Regions from separate parts of the Homo sapiens genome. Here all the other regions are linked to region 5. The links are contacts of gene promoters, found by promoter capture Hi-C in blood cells and fetal thymus (Javierre and others, 2016). All regions are on one chromosome and are shown on one strand. Each heading gives the region's core, a stretch centred on a gene start or on the middle of the fragment in contact. The rest is flanking DNA. Distances are from core to core; before and after follow the strand shown.

What was found. The method cuts DNA at HindIII sites, captures the fragments that hold promoters and counts their contacts. A CHiCAGO score of 5 or more calls a contact.
Region 1: a contact is called between a fragment that was not itself captured here and the fragment with the promoter of EDAR in region 5, in 2 of 17 cell types (total CD8 T cells and non-activated CD4 T cells). The highest score is 5.5, in total CD8 T cells.
Region 2: a contact is called between a fragment that was not itself captured here and the fragment with the promoter of EDAR in region 5, in 1 of 17 cell types (non-activated CD4 T cells). The highest score is 6.5, in non-activated CD4 T cells.
Region 3: a contact is called between a fragment that was not itself captured here and the fragment with the promoter of EDAR in region 5, in 1 of 17 cell types (non-activated CD4 T cells). The highest score is 5.3, in non-activated CD4 T cells.
Region 4: a fragment that was not itself captured here is called in contact with the fragment with the promoter of EDAR in region 5 in 1 of 17 cell types (naive CD8 T cells); the score reaches 6.3 in naive CD8 T cells.
Region 6: a fragment that was not itself captured here is called in contact with the fragment with the promoter of EDAR in region 5 in 3 of 17 cell types (non-activated CD4 T cells, naive CD4 T cells and naive CD8 T cells); the score reaches 6.4 in non-activated CD4 T cells.
Region 7: a fragment that was not itself captured here is called in contact with the fragment with the promoter of EDAR in region 5 in 1 of 17 cell types (total CD4 T cells); the score reaches 5.9 in total CD4 T cells.

Annotation. Positions count from the first base shown.
Region 1 is chr2:109,238,829-109,241,673 of GRCh38, reverse strand. The region is part of intron 1 of SH3RF3 (SH3 domain containing ring finger 3); the gene reads right to left. It also overlaps a transcript of RANBP2 not described here. Among named protein-coding and RNA genes, the nearest start is that of MIR4266, 73 kb to the left of the region's middle. RefSeq lists enhancers at 2,554-2,643, 2,684-2,773. The HindIII fragment of the contact is 1,635 bases long and covers 572-2,206 here.
Region 2 is chr2:109,210,304-109,213,024 of GRCh38, reverse strand. All of the region lies in intron 1 of SH3RF3 (SH3 domain containing ring finger 3), which reads right to left. It also overlaps a transcript of RANBP2 not described here. Among named protein-coding and RNA genes, the nearest start is that of MIR4265, 70 kb to the right of the region's middle. The HindIII fragment of the contact is 9,606 bases long and covers 1-2,721 here.
Region 3 is chr2:109,170,108-109,172,807 of GRCh38, reverse strand. All of the region lies in intron 1 of SH3RF3 (SH3 domain containing ring finger 3), which reads right to left. It also overlaps a transcript of RANBP2 not described here. Among named protein-coding and RNA genes, the nearest start is that of MIR4265, 30 kb to the right of the region's middle. The HindIII fragment of the contact is 6,921 bases long and covers 1-2,700 here.
Region 4 is chr2:109,151,270-109,154,284 of GRCh38, reverse strand. The region is part of intron 1 of SH3RF3 (SH3 domain containing ring finger 3); the gene reads right to left. It also overlaps a transcript of RANBP2 not described here. Among named protein-coding and RNA genes, the nearest start is that of MIR4265, 11 kb to the right of the region's middle. The HindIII fragment of the contact is 172 bases long and covers 1,199-1,370 here.
Region 5 is chr2:108,987,777-108,990,780 of GRCh38, reverse strand. It overlaps EDAR (ectodysplasin A receptor), which reads left to right and starts at 1,561. Exons shown (of 12, transcript NM_022336.4): 1 at 1,561-1,821. It also overlaps a transcript of RANBP2 not described here. RefSeq lists an enhancer at 2,587-3,004. The HindIII fragment of the contact is 677 bases long and covers 1,277-1,953 here.
Region 6 is chr2:108,842,292-108,845,318 of GRCh38, reverse strand. All of the region lies in intron 11 of CCDC138 (coiled-coil domain containing 138), which reads right to left. It also overlaps a transcript of RANBP2 not described here. Among named protein-coding and RNA genes, the nearest start is that of CCDC138, 57 kb to the right of the region's middle. The HindIII fragment of the contact is 1,764 bases long and covers 648-2,411 here.
Region 7 is chr2:108,779,842-108,782,646 of GRCh38, reverse strand. It overlaps RANBP2 (RAN binding protein 2), which reads right to left. Exons shown (of 29, transcript NM_006267.5): 26 at 1,218-1,378; 27 at 246-519; 28 at 1-119. Among named protein-coding and RNA genes, the nearest start is that of CCDC138, 5.5 kb to the left of the region's middle. The HindIII fragment of the contact is 5,453 bases long and covers 1-2,805 here.

The DNA.
Region 1 (2,845 bases), core at 140-2,639, 250 kb before region 5:
CTGCCGAACCCTCACCATGGCGAGGCGGGGAGACAGAGAGTCCCAGGGGCCCTCCCAGCAGAGCTGACCGAACCAAGCCAAACCTCAATGCCTGAGGCCAAGTGGGAGGGAAGAAGGTTGTGTGGGAGGGAGGACGGATGGTTATAAATCTGATTTTCTGCCAACAAAATGTAATACGAGCTTATGTAGGAAATTTCAAAAGATATAAAGAAAAAAAAAGGACATTCCTAAAGTATTTCTTCCAGCCATTTTTTCCCCCAATGCATCTATACCCATATGGCCCTAGAAAAGGGGAGAGGGTCCCACAGCAAGATGAATTTTGTATACTTTTTTTCCACTTCAAATGCTCCAATATCCGTCCATCTTTTATAATGGCCATTACTACAAATGAATTTGTCTTTTCTGTTGTTGTTGTTATATTCTTAGGCTGGAATTGTTAGGTCAAGAGACAAACAAACTGCTTTTTCAGAGAGTTTTTGTTTTGAGGTATGTAAGTACAAACTTATTTCGCTCTCTTCTTGTCATCATTGACTGTCGACTAATTTGTATTAACTTACTAGACAATGAAGCTTCTCATTCTCAGAGCTTACTACTAAGGCCACTTATTTTAAACATATATTTTTAGTAATTATTCTTCTGATGCTCTATAGAGTTCTTTTTGGCCAAAAGGGAGGCATGGAGTTTTTGGGGAGATGTGGACTTGTTTGGATGTGGATTATAAGGAGGTGAGGGAGAAAGAAGATGGAACATGAGAAAAGAAGCGGGGAGCAAGACAGAGAGACAGAGAGAGAGAGATGGAATCAAGTTCCCAAGGGCAGGGGTGGGGGTGGGGGTGTCAGGAGTCCAGTAGGAAGAAGTAACCTTAGAAGAGAAGAGAAACCCCTCAGGGTCTAGAGAGGAGAAGGACGACAGGAGGAAATAGGAAGAAGCTCAGAAGGAAACAGAAGGGTGCTCAGAGGTGGGAGGGAGGGAAGATGAAGGCATTCTCACCTAATGGCCTCTCTGGTTCGTGTGAAATAATCCGTCAGTGGCAGGGGATATTAGAGAAGCTGAAGGTTTGAAACTGCAGCAATGAAAAACCTATTTATCCACAAGTCAAAGTGCCACACCAGGGGACTCTGCTACTGATAGGGACCATCAAGCCCAACCCTGACTCTGGTTTTAGTTTTTGTTGTTTGTATTTTGTTTGTTTGTTTTTTTGTTTGTCGCCCAGGCTGGAGTGCAGAGGTGCGATCTTGGCTCACTGCAAGCTCCGCCTCCCAGGTTTAAGCAATTTTCCTGCCTCAGCCTCCCAAGTAGCTGGGATTACAGGCATGAGCCACCACACCTGACTAATTTTTTTGTATTTTTAGTAAAGATGAGGTTTCAACCATGTTGGACTCCCGACCTCAAGTGATCTGCCCTCCTGGGCCTCCCAAAGTGCTGAAATTATAGGCGTGAGCCACCATGCCTGGCTTCAACCCTGATTTTGCATGTGAGAAAACTGAGGCCCAGAGGTGATAAATGGGTGATCCATGGTTCCACAAGAAGAGAGGGCAGTGCCAAGTCTAGAATCCCCAGGTGTGGTTCACCCACTATGCAATACAACAGCCTTCACTCACATAAGAAAACAGAGAAGGGTCTGGGCCAGAGCCCCGGCCACCACTACAGACAAGTGACTCATCTATCATGAGCCAGCAAGCATTCCACAGAGGATACCCAGCTGCAAGCCCCACTACAACTAGAGCACATTTTGCTATCAGTCACCTCCGCCTGGCTGCCAGTGATTGAGTGACTCCTCACCTTCAGCACACATTTCTCTAAGTCTCCAAGGAGACGGTCGGAAATTCTGTAAGTTGCTGTGAGCTGTGGGGATGAAAGGCAGGTGGCCGTGAAACACCCCTCCCAAAGACAAGGGACTCCCACAGCAGTGCCGCCAGCTCCTTTCCACAGGTGGCTCCATTTAAGCTGGAGCACTTGGCAGAGCAACTCCCTCCCTAAAATCTATTACTCCACCAAGAAAGCTCTTAAAAATCAGTGGCTTCATCGGCCTCTCTTTCCTCCCTGTTATCCTGGATGATCACGCCTGGCTCTGTACCCAGTCTCGTGTGTGCAAACAATGGTGTCTGCCCACTAACCCCGTGTCCCTCATCGGACCGCAGAGTCAAATATGGGGCCAAATTCAAAATCACTTCAGAATATTGTAGTCCGTTTGTTCTAAAAAGCTTTTACTTGATTGGAGGCAAGGAGCAGGGAAGACCCCAATTTTCACTAGAAAACTGTATCCTTATTCTTATTCAGTTCATTTTTGTGTGAGGAGAAAGAAATGACTACTTTGGAAATGACCCATTGAATCTTAACAAAAATACTCCTATAGCCCCCTAGGAAGGGATAAAAGCTTCCATACAGAGACCCCCAAGAAAACAAATCCATGTGAGAAACCCAGGTGAGCTGTTTGCCATCCGTATTTACGGACCCCAGCTCTTTTCGGAGCACTGTGCAGGGCTCACACCCAGGGAAGAAAGAGGTCTGGGGAAGCTCAAAGTGCTCACAGAGTTCTGAGCTCTGGGACACTCGGAAAAGACGTGTCTTGGACGTCTTCTCCTGTATACAACCATCTTGACATTTGGCACTGCATAAACCCAGGGAACTTGCTTATTTTTATTACATTTAACATTGTTCTGTCTACCAGTAGCTTTTCCTCTCATGAACAGAAAGAACTGGAGGCAGAAAAGCCAACTGAAGGGCCCTCTCATCTGTTGTCTCTGATGCATGCACCCCCTCACATAGAGCCAGTGACCACAGTGGAGCTGTATCCTCCCTTGGGACAGAGAGAAGGGACTGCCCCCCACACTGGCTGCTGTCC
Region 2 (2,721 bases), core at 66-2,565, 220 kb before region 5:
TACCCTGCTGCCGACACCTGCACACCGCTCAGCACAGGGCTTCCCTGGGATGTGTGGGCAGCATCTGTCTTTTCATCATCCACTATATTCCAATCATCTTTCTCCCCCACCCAACAGAAGTTCCATAAAGCCAAGACTGTGTCTGATCCACCCTTGTTCTTCCAGTGCCCAGCCTGGTATGGCACCTACCCCACACCAGCTCACCAGGAGGTCTAACTCCTCCAGCAGGGAAATACCAGGGGCAGAGGGAACTGACGGGTGGGGGAGAAGGCTGCTTTGGGCCACGGGCAAAGAGAGAATGGGTCTTTATTATACAACAATTAGTTCTGTGATTACAATCAGGTGAGTCCATTTAACACAAGAAAAGGGAGGTTGCTATCTGGAGAAGAAACATTGACAAAGATCAATGAACCCAAAAGATCTGTCAAATGTGTGGGTCAGCCGACTTCTCCTCAAGCCACTCCACTTGATCTCATTTCTCCAGCCAGCTGGGCAAAGCTACCTCAAGCCAACCTCCCTGGAGCTGTCGGAAAGCCTCACAATGCAGTCAGGATGGTTGCTAACAAATTCATTTTGAGACTTTTGTATTGTTTTTCCTTGTCAGGATTCTAAATGAAATACTGTCCAAGTTGGGATTTATAGTCACGTATAACCAGCCAAAGCAGTCCCCTACTTTCCCGACAACATGGTCAGACTCTAATTGAAAACTGCCCCTCCTCCATAGCGAGCCAACTGACTTCCTTCAGCCTTTTCTGGGCAGCCTCATTTCATGGAGTTGGAGGGAAGTGAGGAGTCAAGAAGAGGAGGAAGAAAATCCCAGATCAGACACCAGTGGCTGGTACCCTGACAAGTCATCCAGAAGCCAAACAAAACCACAGCCACCCAGAGGCTCGATTCGGACCATTGCCCGGCAAGCCGCACCAACCACCCATTCACCAGCTTACATTCCAAGTTTCGCTATCTCCCTGGAATTCCGCAAAGCCCACCAGTTACACCAATGCAGGTGCTCAATCAGTCATTTATTGAATTCAGTGGCATTCACATTCAGGTTTCTAGAAAGAGGTAACAGAAATGTGGGAAGGGGCTGGGTGCGGTGTCTCACACCTGTAATCCCAGCACTTTGGGAGGCCGAGGAGGGCGGATCACCTGTGGTCCAGAGTTTGAAACCAGCCTGGCCAACATGGGGAAACCCTGTCTCTCCTAAAAATACAAAAAATAGCTGGGCATGGTGAATGCCTGTAATCCCAGCTACTCAGGGAGGCTGAGGCAGGAGAACTGCTTAAACCCAGCAGGCGGAGGTTGAAGTGAGCCAAGATTGCACCATTGCACTCCACCCTGGGTGACAGAGCGAGACTCCATCTCAAAAAAAAAAAAAAGAAAGAAATGCAGGAAGGGCCGAAGGGCTCATGTGCATCTGTCTGTCTAATGCTCCCCACTGCTGTGCTCTCCAGCACGTAGCTGCCTGCTCTGTGACAGCCCCGGAGCTTGCTGATCCGCTCCTACTGGATACCTGGAAGACTGGGCTCCCCCTCCACCGCAGTTGCGCCCATCTGCATTCTTCTCAGACACGGCCCCTACTCCTTCCGCTCCATGCTTCTTACCTCGCCAGGGCTTCCCTGCTGTTTATAACACCTCCTGATTTAGCATCTTCTGTGAATTTCATTAAATTGCTGTTTACTGTTGCCTCCAGCATTATTAATAAAGATGTTAAACAAAATCCAGGCTTGTAACCAATGCCTTGCTGCAAATGGCAGGACATCCCCTCACCACCTAGCCAGCTGCCATTTATCAGGGTTGCCTCCTTGCCTTTTATCCCAGCCAAGGAGCAGCCCCCACCTGCTTTCAGGTCAGCAGGGCTCACTTCTCCTTTAATTGTGCTTAATTCTGCAAGTAACGTTTTCTCCAGAGGCCCCATAGACACACATAAATGGGCATATTAACCAAAAAGGTGTGCTCCCTACCAGACAGAGCAGAACAGACTCAACTGAAGAGCTGTCATCAACCCGTGTGCCAGGAGGAAGAAGGAACTGAGCAGAGCGGGTGTGCACCCCATCCATCCCCAAACCCAGCCCACTGGGAGGCTCTGACAGGAAAGGACAGCAGCAATTCCACCACGTGTCAAGTGGGGTTGTGTTTTCCTTCACAATTAAAATAAAGATTTCTCACCTAGGTTGTAAATAGATTTTTAAATTTAAAAAGCTACATTTTGTAGTGACTCATGCTTTAGAAATAGGTCGTGCTTGCCAGAGAAGCAGTCGACTAATTCACAGCATTTCTCCCTTTCCTCCCTGCCTACACCCAGAGAGAACCCCGGGAGGAAAACCCAACCTCCTTCCTGGGCCTCCCACCTGGAGTAAGCTCATCAGACCCCACCTCTCCCCTTACTCCAGGCCCCACCAGGCCCAGGCACTTCCCTGAGCTGGACACAATCCACACCTGCAGAGCCACCTGCTTAGGCCATTTGCCCTGAGCTCTTGAAAGCCCCAGATGTCCCATCTCATTGTCTGGTTGGTGTTACTCCAGCCACTGTCTCCCTGGGATGCAGCTCCAGCAGTCTCCAGGCTGCTGGGCAACTCTGAAAACAACATGTAGCCTCACTGTGCTCAATGCCTACAGACAAAACGAGGGAGCACGGAAAAGACCAGGCTTTCCCGCTTTGGACTTCACAGATCAGTGACATTAAAAATCTTGAAATATCATTTTTAGGTCTATACTCAAAAA
Region 3 (2,700 bases), core at 198-2,697, 180 kb before region 5:
GGGAAACTTAGACCACTTCCGTAACCCACATGCAGTTTGGTTTCTTAGCTAGGACAAAAAGTCCAGCATCCCTGCCAGAGCTCAACATGGGCAGACATGTGTCCCCATTTCTAAGACAAGGAAAATGAGAGCCCAGCAGTATCAGATCCCAAACAATTGCTTCCTGCTATGGGCTCCGGAGAGGTGATGCTGCTGATTCAAAACACCAGCCTGGGTGGCCAGGTGCAGCCCAATAATCCACACTGTTTGGAATAACAAGAGCTAGGACGGGACAAGCGGAGGGAGGTAAGAAAGGAAAATTACACCATTAAGGACTATTTTCACTGCAAACACCAAGAGGATAAAAGTTTGCTATCTCAATAAACGTATTTTAATGTTTTTAGGTTACAGTCACAGAAAAAGGAAGACCTCCAGGAGCAGGGAGAGGACGGCTGAGCTCCGTGCATGGTGAAGAGGGGTTTGACCGCTGGCTCGCGCATTTCCACGCTGTTTGCAAGGTCCTTGTCAGGAGAGAAACAGCACAGGCCACACGCAGCTGTTGCCCACAGATCCCTGTGGCGGCTGATACTTCAGACGCTGTGCTCAGAGGCCTGGCTGCCAGAGGACCCTGGTCTGAGAGCTAATGCACAGCTCACTCATCGGCATATTCCAGATGGCTCCGGGAGACCTGCTCCCCACCCGCTCTGCCCCAGGTCATTGCCTGGAACTGGGAAATGACGTGCATATCAAGTTTTCCCTCGTGCTCCAAACCAAGCAACCAAACAGGCCCTCATGGAGCCCACAGTGCTGGGCCCTGCCTTTTATTGGGAAACGGGCGACTCAGCTGAGAATCACGCTGAAAATAAACAAGCTCACCACAGCGAAAGGAGGGAGTCAAGGCTGGGCTCGGCACATGCATGCCCTTTATGGGAACACAGAATGGGAGTTTCAAAGTGAATCCATATAAAACACAAATAGAACATCTTCATTCCTGGATGACAGGCCAGCTTGGGGCAGGCAGCCACTCCCCGCTGCAAGTGAGCGTGGCCGGGATGCACGGCAGGGAGCCAGCCAGCGTGGGCACCAGGAGGGCAGCGCCAGGCGCAGGGGCTGGGCCTCTGGAAGGCATTAGCTGCACCGAACTCCCAAAGGCCCAGACTAAACAGCCCTGGAGCCCTGGATTCATTCCCGCACAGGAAATGTCTCAGAGGCAGCTCTGCACAGACCAGGGGCGGCGAGAAGGAAATAGCTCCCTGTGCTCCGTGTTCTAATGCACTTCCCTGGCCCGCCGCGGGCGAAGCCACAGCGCTGACCATACCCGCGAGCCCAGCAGCAGTGAGGGGTCGGGGTAGGGGGGCAAGCGTGGAGCAGGAGGGGAAGCATTTTTGTTAGGAAGAGTATTTCAAGTCAATATGCAGATAATTTTCTCCGAATATTCATAGTCACTAACAACAAATAGCCATCATTTTGTATAGAGATGACAAAAACTTTGAATTCTTAACAGGCTATAGATAAGAAATAGATATGACAAGGAAATAAAAGGACATTCAACTCTACATATATAACCAAAACAACCAAATACATGTAAGCAAATACAGCCATAATATGGTTATATTTGGTGATGTATGTACTTTATATACATAAATAAACCAAAAAATGTACATATATATAAAACAAAACAAAACCTGAATGATCTAGGTGCTGCAGATTACTGAGGAAGAGATAAGTCACACAGCAAGTGAGCTACATAAAACCAGGATGCCCATGAACCAAACCAGGACACAGACTCCCCCAGCCCCCAGCACCTGGCATGCAGGTGTGCCTCCCGGGCTTGGTTCCTGTGGGGAGCGCCCTGTGTGCCTCTGTGCCTCAGCACCCAGCCCGGTGTGGGCTACCTGCAGGCAACAGCTGCTTAGTGAGGTGATTTATCAGTCCTCTTTGAACAGAGGAAGGTGACGCAAGGTAGCTTACTGAGGGGAGAAAAGCGCCCTCTCTGTTCACAGGTAAACTATGCCCTGTGCACCTGGATGTCAGCTTCCTGAGAGAAACAGATGGGTCATCCGCACCCCTTGAGCCCCAGTGCCTGGCACATGGTCAATGCCCAACAAATATTTATTTAATTAACAAATAACAACCTCAGACTGTGGAGCAGGATGAACCCTTAGGAAATATTCTGTTTGACCAGGCACAGTGGCTCGCACCTGTAATCCCAGCGCTTTGGGTGGCCGAGGCGGGTGGATCACGAGGTTGAGGTCAGGAGATCGAGACCATCCTGGCCAACATAGTGAAACCCCATCTCTACTAAAAATACAAAAATTAGCCAGGCATGGTGGTGTGCGCCTGCAGTCCCAGCTACTCAGGAGGCTGAGGCAGGAGAATCACTTGAACCCGGGAGGCGGAGGTTGCAGTGAGCCGAGATTGTGCCACTGCACTCCAGCCTGGGCAACAGAACAAGATGTGGTCAAAAAAGAAAGAAAGAAAGGAAAGAGAGAGAGAGAGGAGAGAGAGAGAGGAGAGAAGAGAAGAGAAGAGAAGAGAAGAGAAGAGAAGAGAAGAGAAGAGAAGAGAAGAGAAGAGAAGAGAAAAGAAAAGAAGAGAAGAGAAGAGAAAAAAGAGAGAGAAAGAAAACATCTCGTTCATCTGCAGATAAGGAAACAAGAGCCGACGATGGTATTAGGGGTATGTAAAATTATAATCCTCTAAAACACCTTCATAGCCTAA
Region 4 (3,015 bases), core at 35-2,534, 160 kb before region 5:
TCCCTCCATTTCCCAGCTTCCATCCAATGTGGTCACCCAAGTGAGGCCAGAAATGACAGAAAGCACCACATGGATGCTAGGCCTGATTAGACCCATCTGCTGAGCCCCATGTAGGGATGACATTTTGAACCCTAACCAAGACAAAGCTCTAGAAACCAGTTTTAAACACACGAGATAAAAGTCTGGCAACCACAGCATATTGACAGTGTTCATACTTTGATGCATCAACACAGAAGGTTCTTGTCTGCAGTTCCATGTCCACCAACCAGAATCACTGACCAGGTCACTTGGCTGCCGCCCAAATTTGGCTTAATGCTCTGTGGTCACGTAATGAAATTCTTAATAATTTTATAATTGCACTTCATTTTGTCCTCGGCCCTGCAACTGGTGTAGCAAGTCCCGACTGCTAATGTCCCAGAGCAGTGGGAGACCAGGAGTCAGCCCTCAGGAAGCAGGTCTGCAGGAAATCTCAGCTCCAGCAAGATGGTGGCATCGGGGGTCGGGGGGTGGTTAATGTGGCTTTAGCCAAAATGCACCAGAACCCAGCTCAGCACAAAACGCACAGCAGACAAGTACACACCCTGGAGACTAGATCAAGATTCATTCCCAGTGTGTCAGAAATAAAATAACTGGGGTGATCTCATGTTTTACTATGCCACACTCTTTCACAGCGGCAGCTTCCACACACACAGGGCATCTGTCGGGCCCACCTCCTGGGGCAGGTGACCCGGTGATAAGGCATTGCACACTGAGCCGAGCCCATGCTTCCTCTGCTTTTGACCTTAATATTTCTCCTGGCAAGTTTCAGTTATTTCATGTCCTTTCATACCTTCGTTACTTCTTTCTCAGCAGAACTAATCTGTCCAAATTTTGGGCAAAATCAGCGTAATTGCCTTTCCAAACCTCAGCAAAAATACAAATTTTTTTAAATCACTAAGAAGAAGAGAGAAAAAAAGGCATGCAATTTTAGCTTCTTCTCAGAAATGGGTTTCCAGTGACAGCTTAAACACCTACATTCCCTTCAAGAATTAATGTAATTTCTTTTATTAGAAATGAATGTACTCATTCAGCCTCACCCATAGCAGGGTTTAGCAGAACGCTGCAGTGCATAAGTTTAGATGCTGGTTCTGTTCCATTGAAATATTTGCCCCACTGATTCCTTCCCCCTCCATTGGGAATGGGTTTTCTGACAAAAGCTTCACAGTGACTGTCTTGTCTTTGCAGATGGTCCCTTGTCTGTAGACTGGGTCCATTTCTGCCCATCAAAACGTGCTTCTAAGACAGGCTCAAACTCAGCTGCATCATAACAACAATGACTTCACACTAAAGTACTGCCTTTCCCAGAAGTTTTCATCCCAGAGATTAAAGCTTTCAATTGCGTGCCTCCATCGAGAACAAGGAGCAAGTACTAAGATTTACTCTTAAAGTTTGAAAGACAGGTGATATTCACTGTGAGAGGGCCCATGTGAGAGACGGTGATAGGCACCCCACCATCAGGCCATCGGGCCTGGGAGGGGACACTGGGTCCCCCCCGCCCCTCTGCCCATGCCTACTCAAGTTGGAACCCATTAATTGAATTTCCAATGATGAGCTGGGTTCAGCAGTCTTGAAACCATGAAATGCTTACTCTTTATTAAATAATGCCGTTTAAAGAGAATGATAATCCCCACAGCTTTAAATATAAATCTGATAATACACAATGTAAATAATAAAAAGGCAAAAATCCAATTTCCATGCAGTGAACTTTCAAACACTTCGTTGTTTCCAGTAAATGAGCTTTCGCTCTGAATGCTGTAATGCCACTGTAGGCCCATCAGGCACCCGGAACAAGGCTATTATGCTCTCGTTCTCAACTTGAGATCGGAGCCCAGAATTATTTATTTGATTTGCTGTACATGTCAGCTAACAAAAGCAATATAAGAGGGATTTGCCAAATGCACCAGGGAAAGGGCAGGCCACCCACCCACATTCCCCACAACTATAAAGACACACCACAACAACAAGGGGAACATGCCCACCTCCCGTGATTATAGGTACTGCCTGTCACCTCGGAAAATGAACCACCTGACAGGTGACAGTTTTGTGATAATTTATTTCTAAGACGCTGAGCACTTTTCCTAGGAAGAAATGTAATTCCAGACACCAAATTTCATCCTCTCCAAAAAGAGGCTAGGAGAAAAACAAAATTAGACTCCATGTCCATCAAGACCACTGAAAATAGACTGCTGATGAGACTTGTCAGAGAAGTAATAACTTCCCATTGGGAAATTTAAATAATCAGCTGGGTATGAAAAATATCCTCAATCTGGGTTTCAGACCAATTTCTCAGCATGCATTTTATAAGCCCTCCAGGCTGTTATTATATTAACTTCAAACCAAAAATTCCTGCAGTCCTCTGCAGATTCTATCATGATGACAATTCGGAAATCATAGGAAATGTCATATTGTTGCCTATAAACCACAATTTGCAGATGCAAATCTATTAGAGTCATAAAAAGTGCACTGGTGCCAGAACTTTATTATGATATCTGAAGTGGTCTGATCCGTCAGAGCTGAGCCTTTCCATACAGCAGCCACCTGTGGGCACCACATGCCTACTGGGCCCTGGAAACCGGGAAGTGTGACCTCAGATGTACTGCAGGGGTGAAATACACATGGGCTTCAGGCTCAGCATGGATGAAAGGATGCAAATTAATAAGTTTTCATAGTAACTACATGCCGACATATTTTGGATACAGTGGGTTAAATATATTCTTAAAATTAATTTCACCAATTTCTTTTTACCATTTGTGACGTGGCTACCAGAAATTTTTAAATTAAATATGTGGCTCAAATTCTATTTGTATTGGATGGTGCTGCTTTGGAGTATAAAATTAGGAATTTGAACCATCAAAGGATGGTTTATTTGAACACCTGTTAAACCATTAGCTTTTCATGAATGTTTCTGAGACGTGTAGGCACAGATTTCCAGGAAGGAAAAAATTCTGTATTCAGTCTGTTTCCATGGCCACAAAC
Region 5 (3,004 bases), core at 312-2,811:
AAGTTAAAATTCTTGTTTGGGAGCTTATATTATCTAGATTAATCATCCACAAGGATCAAGTCAGCTAAGTAACTCTGGTTCAGCTTAATCTCTGTGGAGGCAGAATTAGTCCTTTACAGTCTAGGTCCTTGCCCCAGCCCCATACATTTCTGTCTGCTTTTTTCTTTTCTTTTCTTTTCTGTTTTGAGACAGATTCTCGCTCTGTTGCCCAGGCTGGAGTGCAGTGGCACAATCTCGGCTCACTGCAACTTCCATCTCCTGGGTTCGAACAATTCTCCTGCTTTAGCCTCCACACATGCCACCACCGGCTAATTTTTGTATATTTTTTTTTTTTTTTTTTTTTGAGACGGAGTCTCGCTCTGTCACCCAGGCCGGACTGCGGACTGCAGTGGCGCAATCTCGGCTCACTGCAAGCTCCGCTTCCCGGGTTCACGCCATTCTCCTGCCTCAGCCTCCCGAGTAGCTGGGACTACAGGCGCCCGCCACCACGCCCGGCTAATTTTTTGTATTTTTAGTAGAGACGGGGTTTCACCTTGTTAGCCAGGATGGTCTCGATCTCCTGACCTCATGATCCACCCGCCTCGGCCTCCCAAAGTGCTGGGATTACAGGCGTGAGCCACCGCGCCCGGCCTAATTTTTGTATTTTTAGTAGGGACGGAGTTTCACCATGTTGGCCAGGCTGATCCCAAACTCCTGACCTCAAGTGATCTGCCCGCCTCAGCCTCCAAAGTGCTGGGGTTACAGGTGTGAGCCACGGAGCCCAGACTGTTTCTTTCTTAAGCTCTTACTTTCTCATGTGTGAGTTACCTTGTAGGTTTCCAAGGCAGAGGGGACAAGATGGAAAAGGAGAACACAGAAATCTAGCCTGGAGGAGCTGCTCTGTTCCTGTATTTATCTGTGTAGGTGTGAATGAGGGAGAAAATGACAAGAGAATGACATTATTTTAAGGCTGTTTTCCCCCCCCCAATCATTTACTTTTTGAGAAATAATTGCCCAATACTGAAAGGTATGTCCTTTCAAAATGTTGATGTTTCAAATGGCTTCCTAATTACCTAGTTATACGGGGGGTGTGTATGGTTATCTGAAGTTACATGGGTATACACTGGTGGTGTGAGGTGTCCAGAGAGAGGAAAGGAAGAGCAGTCCTGGTGGCTCAAACCCTGAGGGATGTGCGGGGGATGGGTGAGAATGTGAACAGACATGTTGGAAGCTGAATCCGTGCAGTGGCACCCATGCCTGTAGCCATCTCAGTGGGGGGTCCTTCTACGAACAAGCTTTGATTAATGATATTTTAATGCTAGTTTAGCTTTTTAGCACTCCCACGCCTAAAGGCTCTGATAGAAGCAAGGCCCCCACCCCTGCAAAAAAAAAAATCCATGATTTTTACGCATTCCAACAGATCTCTTAAGGGGCAGACGGCCGGAGAGCCAGGTGTGCCAGGGACCTATGGCAGCAGGGCTGAACGTGCCCGCTCCAGCCTCTCCAGTGCTGGGAGAGACCTCTAGATGGTGCAGGTGAGTTTGCAATGAGGGAAAGCCCCTCGGCAAGGACTGAGTTTCCAAACTTGCAGACAGGGCAGGGAGCGGTCAAGGAAGAGTTCCCGGGAAGCCCTTTAAACGGAAAGGAAGCGGGGCTAGTGTCAGAGAGGTGTGCCAGGTCCCAGGCAGCCCTGCTGGCCCCTAAGGACATAGAGTACCTGCTTCTGAGAGGGCTGCCACGGTGGCCACCTGTGAAGCCTGTCACCCAGAACTGGATGGTACCTGACTTTCTTCATAGACCCATCTTCTGCTGGGACTGAAGCTGACCTCCAACAGAAGCCAGGTAAGCCCTGGTCCTTTCCTCTGGTTTTCTAAACTCTTCAGCTGTGGCCGAGACGGAGGTGTCATGGGCTGGGAGAGAGGCTGGGTGCATTTTTGAAATGCATGTCATTTTTGGGTTGCGTTTGAACAAGCTTTACCGATTGCAGTATGTCTGCGCTACCAGTTCTAAGACCTGAGATTGTTCCTTTGTTTTAGAAAAACATCAGAAACCCTGTTTTGCTGTTGGTTGCACATTTGGTTAGGGAGACAAATTCTGTGTGTGCTTCACAGGCTTTAAGATTTGGGCTACTGAAGCAACGGGTTCCTCCAGGGAGCGTGAAAAGTATGTTTCTCAGGTTTGCCCCTGTGCCCGGCTCACTGGGGAAGGCAGGCGCGGCAGGGACTCTAGCTGGGCTCTGTACCTGCCTCCAACTCTGCGTACCCGCTGTGACCTAAGAGACCTTCCAAGTGGGGTTTCCAGTCGTGTCTGAGACCCCCCATATCCTGGCCTCTGTGTTGGTGGCGGGGGAGCGGGGAGAGGGAGAGAAGGAGGGGAGTGGGTACCTATTTGTGATGATTGAGGTTTTCATTTCCAGCCAAGAGGTTCCTCTCAACACTCTGACAGACCGTGGGGTGGGTTGGGCTCCTAGACAGGAGTCGGCTCTGATTCAGTCGGCTCTGATTCCCAGCCTCCTGCAGCAGCCAAGCTTTGAGATGTCAGCTCAGGGAGAAGCGGGTGGCTGGGCAGGGAGGTCAGCAGGCGAGGTTCCCACTGGGTTTCCCTGCCCATGTTGTGCTGGGTCAGCAACAAGAGGGACAGTTAAAATCAACAAGCAGGGCAGATGCCGGTCAGTGGGCAATCCCACACAGCCAGGGGTACACGCATGTGAGGAGACGTACGGAGAGACAGGAGCACCACCGTCCTCTTCCCCAGTCCCCAGGCCACTGCTCTGTGGCTCTCAAGTGGCATTTTTGAGACACTTTCTAAGCAAGAGTGAAAGTGTAACAAAGAAGTGAAGAGCCATAATAGACTGAAGGAAAAAAGGGATCCAGGCATCTAAAATAGAGAATGTTTCTTGCCTGGCTTAATACTCTGAGATTTGTAAGTCATAGCCACTTAAAACCTTTAAAGATACATTTTGACAGAGGCCACCAAAAAGAGAGTGACTCTGGTCAAGGCTTGGAAATAAGCGTTCGTTCCGATG
Region 6 (3,027 bases), core at 280-2,779, 150 kb after region 5:
ACAGGTGACAAAGGCCAAATGGTTGAGTGGTCAGACACACAAGCAGTGCAATCTAATTTAAATATATTGTCAGTACAATTTTTATATTATTAGAAAAAAAATACATGTTTTTAAACCTTTGTGTAAAAAATAGAAAAAAATGTTCAAAACTCTACTTACAATAAGTGTGTTAAATGACAGGATTAAGGTAAACTTTTTTTGTTTTTAAAATTATCTCTAATGCTTTACTACTACACTTTTATAATGAAAAAATAAACTTGAAAAAAAAATGTGGGCCAGGCACAGTGGCTCACGCCTGTAATCCCAGCACTTTGGGAAGCCAAGGCAGGCGGATCACAAGGTCAGGATATCAAGACCATTCTGGCCAACATGGTGAAACCCCGTCTCTACTAAAAATACAAAAATTAACTGGGCTTGGTGGCGTGCACCTGTAATCTCAGCTATTCAGGAGGGTGAGGCAGGAGAATCGCTTGAACCTGGGAGTCGGAGGTTGCAGTGAGCCGAGATCGTGCCACTGCTCTCCAGCCTGGATGACAGAGCAAGACTCTGTCTCAAAAAAAAAAAAAAAAATGTGGATAGTATTTGCCTTTAATTGAAGGAAAAGAGAAAAAACTCCAAAAATAGCACTCTGGGTTGTTGCTGAAGCTTCACCTAAGGATGTTAAAACTTTTGCTGAAACAAATCTAGACCCAAAATGTCTAGTTTTCAATTTAAAATCACCCACCATTCCAAGGACCAGAAAGATTTCAAACTGAATGAAGAAAAGACAATCAACAGCTGCCAACACCGACAGGACAGAATGTTAGAATTGTCTGACAAAGATTCTAAAGTAGCCATGACAAAAGGAACACCTGCATACGCTTTTAGAAAATCTCATCGAAGACACAGAAAGTCTTACCAAAGAAGACATAGAAAAAGAACCAAGTGAATATTTCAGAACTGGAAATACAATAACAGTCTCAATAACAGAATGGAGAGGATGGAGGAAAGAATAACTGGAAAATAAAACAACAGAAAACACCCAACCTGAACAACTGCAAACAACCTGGAAAAATAACAACAACCACCAGAACTTCAAGGAATAGCAAAACATCTAAAATCACGTCATTAGAGTCCAGGAAAGGAAAAATCAGGTAGGGCTGAAAAAGCACTTGAAGAAACTGGGGGCGGTGGCTCACGGTTGCACTCCCGGCACTTTGGGAGGCCAAGATGGAAGATCGCTTGAGCCTGGGAGTTCAAGACCAGCCTGGGCAACATAGGGAGACCCTATCTCTACAAAACAAAAAAAAATTAACCAGGTAAGGTAGTACATGACCGTGGTCCCAGCTTGAGCCCAGGAGGGTGAGGCTGCAGTGAGCCGTGATTGTGCCACTGAACTCCAGCCTGGGCAACAGAGCAAGACCCTGTCTCAAAAAAAAAAAAAAAAAAAAAAGAAAGAAACACACACACACACACACACACACACACACACACAAAACATGAACTTGAAGAAATAATGACTGAAAACTTCCTGGACTTGGCAAAAAACGTGCCCAGAGACTGAAGAAACTAAACAAACACCAAACAGGCTAAAATAAAGAGATCAACACCAAGACCCATCATAGTCAAACTTATAAAAACTAAAGACAAATGTGTGTGAGAGAAATGACACCTTACATATATGGGGAAAATAACTCAAATGACAGATTTCTTATCAGAAACCATGGAGGGCAGAAAGAATTGGCACATTTTTCAAGTACTGAAAGTAAAGAACTGTCACACTAGAATCTGATACCCAGTGAAAATATCCTTCAGTAATTGAAAGGAAATCAAAATATGTTAAGAAAAACTAAGAGTTTGTGTCATCAGCAAACCTACTCTAGGCCAGGTGCGGTGGCTTATGCCTGTAATCCCAGCACTTTGGGAGGCCACGGCAGGTGGATCACTTGAGGTCAGGAGTTCGAGACCAGCCTGGCCAACATGGCGAAACCCCATCTCTACTAAAAATACAAAAAGTAGACAGGCATGGTGGTGGGCGCCTGTAATCCCAGCTACTTGGGAGGGTGAGGCAGGAGCATGGTTTGAACCCAGCAGACGGAGGTTGCAGTGAGCCAAGATCATGCCACTGCACTCTAGCCTGGGCAGCAGAGTGAGACCCTGCCTCAAAAGAAAAAGAAAAATAACTACTCTAAAGAACAGATAAAGAAGTCCTCTAAACAGATAGATAGGATATAATGAAAGAGGGAACTGTGGCACATCTGGAAGGAGAGAAGAACATAGTAAACAAAAATATGGGTAAATACAATAAACTTTCCTTCTCTTCTTGAGTTCTATAAATTCTGTTTGACGGTTGAAGCAAAAATGGTAACATTCTCTAATGTGGTTCTAAGCGTATACAGAAAAGGTTAAGGGATAAAAAGGGAAGTAAAGCTTCTGTGCTTTATTCAAACCGGTAAAATGACCATACCAATAGACTGAATAAGTTCTACATAATGTTGTAGTGAATGCTTATAATTTGATGTTGCCCTGGCATTCATTTTAAATGTAAGTTGGACTTTTTCACCCTAGAAGCAGGGATCAGTCACTTTTAACACTGTTTCCAGTTTTAAATCCCCATCCCCTCCCCCAGTTCCTAAATATGTTTGATTCAGATATCTGCCTTAGACAACTCCTCCCTAATGACCACTTCCCTATGGAATAGCTAGATGAAGCCCGCACAACTTGTCTCACAGACCCTCACACCTCACTACGGACTGTGTGAACATGCCACAGTGACTACCTCCTAGAACTCATGTCTGCTTGCTTTAAACTCAACAAACAAAACAGCCTGTGAAAAACCTGTATGGGTAACATCCTGGACTCCAATAAGGGCACTTGCCCACAGGTCCCTTTCTCTCTCTCTCGCTCTCTCTCCCTGCCTGTGCTTCCTGACTTCCAAGTATGTGGACTCCAGGTTTGCCATGTAACTCCCAGGACCTAAAAGTAATAAATTCTTTATTTCAGCCAGATGGGTTGGCTCACGTCTGTAATTCCAACAATTTGGGAAGC
Region 7 (2,805 bases), core at 174-2,673, 210 kb after region 5:
ATGTCCTTTCTGGAGTTTCATTAAATTCTGCTGACATTCTTCAAATGTTTTCTTGAAACAATCAGCTACTTCTTTAGTTTTAAATCTCACTGCAAGCTGTTCTACTTTTGCTTCTCCATCTGGCAGGGAGGGAAAGGGGAAGCAGTGACCTTAGTATTAAAATAACTGTTATAAGTTGTTTTGTTTGTTATAGATTTTAGAAAAGTCCAAAAAATGAAAAGTAGCATTTGAATGTAAAAACTCACCAGCATAATCTGAGGCAGTCCAAACTAAAGCATTATTTGAAACATTTAAGGGCTTTAATTCCATTGTTTTAGTAATAACGTGGTTTGCACACACTTTAAAAACCTGGTCTCTTCTCATTAGGATCCGGTAATAATTCTTCATTGTATGCCAAAGAATCTTTATATCTCCAACACCGCGCTCCTTCCACTGACTGACATCCCGATCCCATCTATAAAGTTTGGCTCTCTCTTTAAACAAAATTTCTTCATCTTCTTCTCCAGATTTTACTTCTACCTATAATAGGAGATGAAATTCTCTATAAGCTGCTGCTTATAATAAATTCCATGACAAATTTCAAAGATCCAAATTCTTTTAAGGCATTTTCTTTGTGATGACAAAGAGAATTTGTTAATGTGATAACTGGTTATATATCTTAGGGCTAGGAATATATCTGATTTGGCTGAGGGAGTAAAGACCTGATTTATCATTAAACATTTTCTTTTATATAATATTCATTTTCCCTTTGGAAATTAAATGCTTTTCTTTATAGGACAGAGAGGTTTCAAAAGTGTTTGCTACTGAAGAGAAATATTAGCTACTGACTGAGGTTAAAAAATGACAAAGTAATTTTCCTAGAACAATGTTCTTGTCCAAAAAACATACAAGGTTAACATTTATTGAAAGGACTTTAGTGAGTATGAGGTTAATTTTTCCCCAGAATCATGTTATAAAAACAAACATGATATTCTAGAAACATAAGAAAAAATTATTTCTTACCAATAATTACATATAGAATTTACAAACCAATATTTATGTAAAAACTGTAAAAAGATAATTTATACTTAAAGGCTAGACATCTAATAAATAGAGCTTCCATTTCAAACAGTAAACATTCTTAAATGCAAACAATTATACCCTGACAGATCAAGCCAGGGTAAAACTTAAAAATGAAAAATAAGTTATTAGTAAAAGGTTAATTCCTTAACATTTACCTCTGGTAGTGACACTATTGGTTCAAAATGGATATCTTCATTATGAACTACTTCTTCATCACTACCATCTTCATCTTCACCAACTTTACCGGCTGACTGGGTTCCGACTGACTGTGTTCCAAACACAGCTGCTCCAGTATTTGCCCATTGGAAATTTTTATCTGATGAATAAATCAGGATATTTAAACACTAGTATCTATTTTTTACATTTTTCATCCCCCTCTTATTTTATCAATCCCTCTAATTCCTGATGATGTAATATGTACATCAATTTTAAATGTTTAAAATTATATTATTCTAGTAAATTCCTCACGCCTGTAATCCCAGCACTTTGGGAGGCCGAGGTCACCTGAGGTCAGGGGTTCGAGACCAGCCTGGCCAACATGGTGAAACCCCATCTCTACTAATAATACAAAAATTAGGCTGGGCGCAGTGGCTCACGCCTGTAATCCCAGCACTTTGTGAGGCCGAGGTGAGCGCATCTCCTGAGGTCAGGAGTTCAAGACCAGCCTGACCAACATGGAGAAACCCCGTCTCTACTAAAAATACAAAATTAACCAGGCATGGTGGCATATGCCTGTAATCCCAGCTACTCGGGAGGCTGGGGCAGGAGAATCGCTTGAACCCAGGAGGCGGAGGTTGCGGTGAGCCAAGATGGCACCATTGCACTCCAGCCTGGGCAACAAGAGTGAAACTCCGTCTCAAAAAAAAAAAGAAAGAAAGAAAGAAAAGAAAAGCCGGGAGTGGTGGTATGCGCCTGTGGTCCCAGCTACTTGAGAGGCTGAGGCAGAAGAATCGCTTCAACCTGGGGGGCAGAAGTTGCAGTGAGCTGAGATTGCCCCACTGCACTCCAGCCTGGGCAACAGAGCAAGATTCTGTCTTTAAAAAAAAAAAAAAAAGTTAGCAGTGTGTGGTCATGGGTGACTGATCCCAGCTACTCAGGAGGCTGGGGCAGGAGAATCACTTTAACTTGAGAGGCAGAGGTTGCAGTGATCAGATACCGCCCCACTGCACTCCAGCCTGGACGACAGAGCAAGACTCTGTCTTTAAAAAAAAAAAAAAAAAAAAAATTAGCCGGGCGTGGTGGCGGGTGCCTGTAATCCCAGCTACTCAGGAAGCTAAGGCAGGAGAATCGCTTGAACTTGGGAGGCGGAGGTTGCAATGAGCAGAGATCGTGCCATTGTACTCCAGCCTGGGTGACAGAGCAAGACTCTGTCACCAAAAAAAAAAAGGAAAAAAAGGAAAAAAAAAAAAGCTAGTAAATTCAACTCATACTGTTGAGTACAGAGTACATTTATTATTGTTATGCTTAGCGATACAAAGATAAGACTGTCACTGCCTTGGATAAACTTCCTAATACTAAACTACACAAGGACTTCCAAGTAAAGAAGTAGGTTCTTTTTACCTACTTCTAAAATTTCAAGTACCCACCTTGAAATTTTGTAAACTTAGCTCAGCAGGCCAAACCTGCTACTTCCAAATTAGCCACAATGGCCTAAACATGTTTATAATTTCTGCATCTCTACTTCTTCCTGAAGAAGCTAATGCTGGAATGTAGATTTCTTGGTTGGGCTGGTGGAAAGCAGCC